2 separate regions of the Homo sapiens genome follow, and region 1 is linked to region 2. Evidence: promoter capture Hi-C in 16 types of primary human blood cells and fetal thymus (Javierre and others, 2016). All regions are on one chromosome and are shown on one strand. Each heading gives the region's core, a stretch centred on a gene start or on the middle of the fragment in contact. The rest is flanking DNA. Distances are from core to core; before and after follow the strand shown.

Region 1 (3,618 bases), core at 791-3,290, 2.6 Mb before region 2:
GTGTTAGCCAGGATGGTCTCGATCTCCTAACCTGGAGATCCGCCCGCCTCGGCCTCCCAAAGTGCTGGAATTACAGGCGTGAGCCACCGCGCCCCGCCCATTATTTTTTTTGATAATATATTCATAAATGCTCAATAAATGTTTATTGAATGAAAAAAGAGGGAAGCTTGGATAAAACAATGGCTTGTGGGATTTTTCCCCCACAAATCTTTTTTTAATAATAAATTTTTATGATAGCACACATGCAGAATTCTCAAAAGATGACAGAAGCAGTAGCACACATTTTGAAACTCCTTAAATCACCCTTAAAAAACAGAGAGAATATAAATATCTCCTATGAATATAGATGCAAAAATCTTCAACCAAACACTAGCAGAAGGAATTCAGCAACATGAAAAAGAATATACAGCTTGACCAAATGGGACTTATCCCAGGAATGCAACGTTGGTTTAACCTACAAAACCAGTTCATATAATACACAATATCTAATAAAGGATAATTTATTATATTGATATAATAAAGGATACCTAGACATAGATAAGACATTTGACAAGATTCAACACCCCTTCGCAATAAAAACATTCAGAAGCTATGGCCGGGCGTGGTGGCTCACGCGTGTAATCCCAGCACTTTGGGAGGCCGAGGCAGGTGGATCACGAGGTCAGGAGATGGAGACCATCCTGGCTAACACAGTGAAACCCCGTCTCTACTAAAAATACAAAAAAAAAAAAAATTAGCAGGGCGTGGTGGCGGGCGCCTGTAGTTACAGCTACTCGGGAGGCTGAGGCAGGAGAATGGTGTGAACCCAGGAGGCGGAGCTTGCAGTGAGCCGAGATCGCGCCACTGCACTCCAGCCTGGGCGACAGAGCTAGACTCCACCTCGAACAAACGAACAAACAAACAAAACATTCAGAAGCTAGAAATAGGAGGGAACTTCCTCAATATCATAAAAGGTTTCTATAAAAACCCACACCCTAACATCATAGCTAATGATGAAAGAGTGCTTTCCTCACTAAGATCAGAAGCCAGACTAGAATAACCAACTTGTCACTTCTATTCAACACTGTGTTGGAGGCTCTAGCCAGGACAACAAGGCAAGGAAAAATAAATAAATAAAAGGCATCCAGATTTCAAAAGAAGAAATAAAACTATCTCTAATACAGAAGACAAAATTTCACATATAGAAAACCATAAAGAATACACTAAAAAACTGTTAGAACTAGTAGATGAATCCAGCAAGTTGCAGAATGCAAGATCAATATACAAAAATCAATTATATTTCTATACACTTGCAATGCACGATCTGAAAATAAAACTAAGGAATAAGTTTTATTTAAAATACCATAAAAAGCATAATACTTATGAAAAATTGGCAAAATAAATGAAAAATTTATTATCTGAAAACTACAAAATATTTTTGAAGGGCATTAAAGAAGACCAATTGAATTAATTAATAAATAAATAAAATTAAGCAGAAAAATATCCCATGCTTATGGATTGGAAAACTGGATATTATTAAGATGGCAATAATCCCCAAGTTGATTCTACAGATTCAATACAGTCCCAATCAGAATTCTACCTGGTTTATTTTTCTCTGCAGAAATTAACTAACTGATCCTAAAATTCATATGGAAATTAAAGAGACCCTTTATAGCTAAAAATCTTAAAAGAGAAGAACAAAGTTAAAGGATTCATAGTTCTTAATTTCAGAGATTATTACAAAGCTACACTCAAGACAGTATGGTACTGGCATAAGGATACACATACAGACCAATGGAATAGAACTGAAACCCCTCACGTTTATGGCCAGTTGATTTTTGACAAGACAATCCGATGAACAAAGAACAGCACTTTTTAACAAATGATGCTAGAAGCCAGGCACAGTGCTTCACACCTGTAATCCCAGGACTTTGGGAGGCCAAGGCAGGAGGATCACTTGAGCCTAGGAGTTTGAGACCAGCCTTGGCAACATGGTGAAATCCCGTTTCTACAAAATATAAAAATTAAAAAAGTAGCCAGGTGTGGTGGCGCACACCTCCCAGTTACTCAGGAGGCTGAAGCAAGAGAATTGCTTGAGCCTAGGAGGTCAAGGCTGTTGTGAGCCATGATTGTACCACTGCACTCCAACCTGGGTGACACAGCAAGACTCTGTCTCAAAATAAATAAATAAAAATAATTTTCCTTTTGTTTATCCCTTATAGTCGATCATTATATATCAATTTTAAAAGATACTATGCAGTAAAGGGAGCAAAACAAAATCTTTGTTGTTAAAAATGGCAATGGGTTAGATAGGCTTAAGAACTGCTGAGTCCCAGCTGACCCTAACTGAACCATATCTGTAACATTTCATCTAATAATCTTATGAAACTACTCAGCAGTCACTAAATATACTATGGGCTTTCCTGCCCCTATGCCTAGTCTTAGGCTGTTCTTCCACCCAAACTAGCGTTACAGCTTCTCCCCAGCGTTCATGACCTACTTTGGTGCCACGCAGCCTTTCCAGATCTCACTACCCCACAATGAATCCTGAAATGTTTGTGTCTATAGCTGTCATTTGGAAATAAATCATGCACTCTTTGAGATAGAGGTGTTGTATTGTTATTTAATGTTATTGTGTGACTATTGTTATCTCTCCAAGTGCAATCTCACAGTTCTTTGTTTTTCCCAAAGGACTGGGGGCATCCTAGGTAGTTAATAGATAGTTGTTCATTGCCTGAAACAGCTATTTGCAGAATAGACTTATTTCAATATTAAAAACTAAAGAGCCTTATTTCTGTTCTCTTTAGAGACCAAAGAATCTGCTGATTCATGTGTTTAGACAGGGCAGATTCTCAAATAGTTTTGTTCCTGCTGAGAACCAGTGAGTTTGGCTGGGTGCGGTGGGTTACGCCTGTCATCCAAGTACTTTGGGAGGTCGAGGCAGGCAGATCACGAGGTCAGGAGATCGAGACCATCCTGGCTAACACGGTGAAACCCCATCTCTACTAAAAAAAAAAATACAAAAAAATTAGCTGGGTGTGGTGGCGGGTGCCTGTAGTCCCAGCTACTCGGGAGGCTGAGGCAGGAGAATGGCGTGAACCTGGGAGGTGGAGCTTGCAGTGAGCCGAGATTGCGCCACAGCACTCCTGCCTGGGCGACAGAGCGAGACTCCGTCTCAAAAAAAAAAAAAAAAAAAAAAAAGACAGAGAACCAGCAGTGAGTTCATCAGCAGAGAAGACAGGGAGTAGGAGCTGGAGCCAAAGCCTCTAAACATTGCTTACTCTGCCTGACAGCAAAATGGCCGTTTCCCCATTCAAGGACTCACTATTAAATCACATAGGACTAAATGCTGTTATTGGTAAACCACATTTTTCCTATTAGCAACATTTGTAAATGTAGAATTTGCAAATATTGTGCATGTCCTTCTATCTTCCTTTTTAAGGAGTACATAGTTGGTGGCATCAGGTATGTATCTTAACTGTCAACAAGCAACCATTAAAATTGTTAAACCACAAAACCCATGGGAACTCATAAACCATTAAACCCATAACAAGGGATTAATCAACTTCCCTTGTCCTTACAGCCTGCCATCCCTACTTTCTTGCCTCATTTAAAACCTTAGGGTCTTCTGGAACTATT
Region 2 (3,636 bases), core at 928-3,427:
ACATAATAATTTCTATGCATGTATATTTGTTACAGACTTTATGAGTTTACTTCATAATTATGCTGTCTCAAAAGTTTAAGAGGAAAAACATACCGATTTATCATTCTATCATCTTTTAACATTCCAAGCAATCTTGGCTTTGAGGGTTAAATAATTCATCTAAGTAAAGTGGAGCTGAAGAAAGAGTACTGATTGTAGCAATTAAAAGGCCAGTTAGTTTCAGTGCCAGTTTTGCCATTTTGAGCAAGTCACTTAAGTTTTCAGGGGCTGATTCAGCTGTAAGATCAAGGGACTCAGGATATGCTCCTCCAGAACCTGCCCCACCCTACCAGTATTCAAAAGTATTAGCACAATACCATAATCACGCAATCTAAATAAAAGGAACATCCATTTAACATTAACTGTCACTTTTTTATGCACGTGAATCATAATCTTCACTTACTGGGGGAAAAAAAAAACCACTAACATGATCTGCTAATAAATGCAGTTATTTCTTAAATAGAACCATTGGATGACCAAAAAAAGTCCTTAAAAAGCACGAATCCAGTCCTCAACCTAATGATTTCACAACTTATTATCTCCAGTATATTCCTCAAACTATTGAACTTCACCATTAAAATATCTGTCTCACATCTAATATCAATCTCTCCCATTGTAGAATAAGGCAATTAATTTAGAGCCCATTTTTCTGTTCAGCTGAGAATGGAAAATAATTGATCAGCATCCTCCGAATTAATCATTATCCATGATAAATATCTTCAGACTTATGTAACAGAAACTATAAAAAAAAAAGAAAAACTCTGGACTTTTCCTGTGTACAAAAATAAAAAAGGTGAGCCCTCCAGAAACGCAGTTTTGCGTGAGTGCGTACTTGGAGCTGTTTGCCAGGCTGCAGACTTAACTCAGAGCACTATATGAAAGCACTGCATTTCCAGGCACTGCCAAGCCCGTTTGTTCATAAAATAAAGCAACAGTTGGGCAAATGTCAAAAGCCACACTACGAAGAACCTGACAGTAAACAGAAACCGATTAGCATAATCTACGTGGTCTGAGTGGTACTAAAACTTGACCTTTTTTTCTATTTTGATCTTTGCTACACAGCATAAAACAAAACAAAAATATTTAAAGTAAACTGCTAAATACAGCAGCAACTTCTGAAAGTCTAGGTCAGTAAAATTTAGAATGCTGCCTTGCTTGCAGGCAACAAGGGGTAGAGGACAATAAAGAACCTTTGTGTTCCGACTGGCAGTAACACAGCAGCGACTGCAGCAGCTCTATCCTTTAAAAAGGAGGCAGCTCCCTGTGTATTTATCACGACTTACATTAACTGGTCACGACAGTCTCCACCATTAGACTGTAAGCTCCAGGAAGGCAAGGACCATGACTCACCACAGTAGCCTCAGCGCCTAAAATAGGCGCTCAATAAATATTTGCTGCAGAATAAATGAATAGGCGGCGATGCAGAAGGGAAGAAGAGGCTCTGGGGACAACCCCAGAGTCCATGGGGACCTTCCTTGCCCGCTCCTCAAACTCTATACTAAGGTTCCCTCCAGCGTTCCCCAAGTCCTCCTGCGAGCTCCCAAACTCGGCTGAGTTTGCAGGGCGGCGACCAGCGCACCGACTTCCCCTCTGCCTGCCGCGACCCGCGGTGGGGTCCGCACGAAGCAGCCGCGGCACGCGGGGCGGGGCGACGCCAAAGTAACTCCGGAGCAACGCGCGGGGCCGCCGGTCCGACACACGCCCTTCCCTGAGCGGCCGCCGCCGGGCGCACGCGCCCCGCAGCCCGAACGCCGCCCCATCCCTAGAGAAATCAGGCGGCGGCTGTTTGGGCTTTTGTGTCTGTAGAAAAACGCGTAAATGCGTGAAAGACTCCGAGAAAAACCGGTTCACCCTCTTCCGCCACCCACTCAGGCACAGCCAGCAGTCCGTGTTCCCAAACACTGCTGATTCCCAGCAGGCCCGCCTCCGCCTCGGCCCGGTCGACTCCGGGCCCGGCCCTTCCCCCCGCGTCTGTCTCTCCCAGAGGCGGTAAGGGCCTGGCATCCGCAACCCCGCGCGGTTTCACCTTCTGAATCGCAGCGGGAGTGATCTCCCCCTTGCCTCGCTGCCTCGGGGCCGCGAAAGCCACAGACATGTTGCCGCCGTCACCACTATCGGCAAGTCCCGAGCGCTCCGGGTGAACGGCAAACTGGGGGAGAGACGCCGGCCTCTCGGGCTGAACCACCTCGGGAATGCGGGGAGGGGGGATGCTCCGGGGCCAAGCGGACGGGCGGCGGGGCAGGCCTGAAGGAGGCACTCTGGCCAGGGATGTCTCGCTTCTGCGCACTCTGGGGGACCCCTAGCCCTGGCCGAACTTTCTTGACCGTCCCTGCATCCCCCGAGCTCTCCTTATGGGCACCCCCTGGCCCTTTGCGCTAATGGTAGAGTCGCGCCCTAGTCCTCCCTCCGCTTCAGCGATTCAGGAAATGGTCCCGCCGCCGCGGGAGAAGGAGAGGCTGGGGCAGCCCCTGTCACAGGAAATGCGAGCGGCCCAAGCCGGCCCGCCCCCTTCGCGCCGTGGCAACTTGCCTCCCTCTCCGGCCCTCTGAAGCGTCTCCCCGACTGTGTTGCAGAGCGTGCCCTAGACCTAGTTCAGTTTTTCCAACTTCATCCTTACTTACGCCTCCTGGCAAGAGTGGCCGCCCCGAGTTGTCCCGGCAGCCCGGAGAGGGGAGGGAGGTCAAGACTCGGGAGTTCGTGCAAATCCGTGGAGCATCTGCCGAGATAGGGCAGAGGTGGAAGGACAAGGTGAACGCGGATTCGCTGGTTTAAATGGCTCGGCTACGCCCCAAATGCGCACCTCCGAGTCCACAGTCTCGCACGCACGCACAAAGTCGTGCCTAACAATTGGAAAGTAACCCTGACCCGAAACCGGGACACCAAGGTTGTGTCCAGTGCTCAGGGGCAATCGGCCAGCTTGGCTGGAGCGGACAGAGAAGAGCTCGCCTCTTGGGACAAACCCTTAGCAGGAAAGTGGGTCGATTTCGTCTGACTTGGCTTTTTGGAATTAAGTTGTGAAACAGGGCATCCTCACTCTCTGTTTTTTAAGAGAGTACTTACTTAGTGCCTTGTAAATTAGGCCCAAGCTGCCAGGCTTCAAGTCAGTGTAAGGGAAAAAGGCAAAGTTTTCAAATTATGGAAGGAACACGGACAAATGTGGGTTTTGTGTTGCCGTGGGGTTTTAAAGTATTCTGTAAATTTAGACTTCCATATAACACAAAGGGAAAGTTTATATAAAGTGTTACCCAACGTTAATGAATAATAAAAAATATTTCCATTTTTATATAAATTGGAAAAATAAAGAAAAAATACATTATTTTAAAAATTTAATCACTTGAGGCCAGGAGTTTGAGACCAGCCTGGGCAACAAAGTGAGACCTCTGTCTCTACAAGAATTTTAAAAATTGGCTGGGTATGGTGGTGTGCACCTGTAGTTCCAGCTACTAAGGAGGCTGAGGTGGAAGAATCACTTGAGCCAAGGGGGTGGAGACTGCAGTAAGCCATGACTGCCCCACCACACTCCACCCTGGGTGACACAGCAAGACCCTGTCTCAAAAAAAAAAAAAGAAAAATTAAGTATCAAATAAATGCTCTTCA

The links. The method cuts DNA at HindIII sites, captures the fragments that hold promoters and counts their contacts. A CHiCAGO score of 5 or more calls a contact.
Region 1: a contact is called between a fragment that was not itself captured here and the fragment with the promoter of SS18 in region 2, in 1 of 17 cell types (non-activated CD4 T cells). The highest score is 6.6, in non-activated CD4 T cells.

The regions. Positions count from the first base shown.
Region 1 is chr18:23,443,869-23,447,486 of GRCh38, forward strand. No RefSeq gene overlaps it. Among named protein-coding and RNA genes, the nearest start is that of RIOK3, 7.6 kb to the right of the region's middle. The HindIII fragment of the contact is 3,752 bases long and covers 165-3,618 here.
Region 2 is chr18:26,088,436-26,092,071 of GRCh38, forward strand. It overlaps SS18 (SS18 subunit of BAF chromatin remodeling complex), which reads right to left and starts at 2,178. Exons shown (of 11, transcript NM_001007559.3): 1 at 2,066-2,178. The coding sequence starts at 2,134. RefSeq lists an enhancer at 2,513-2,632. The HindIII fragment of the contact is 4,894 bases long and covers 1-3,636 here.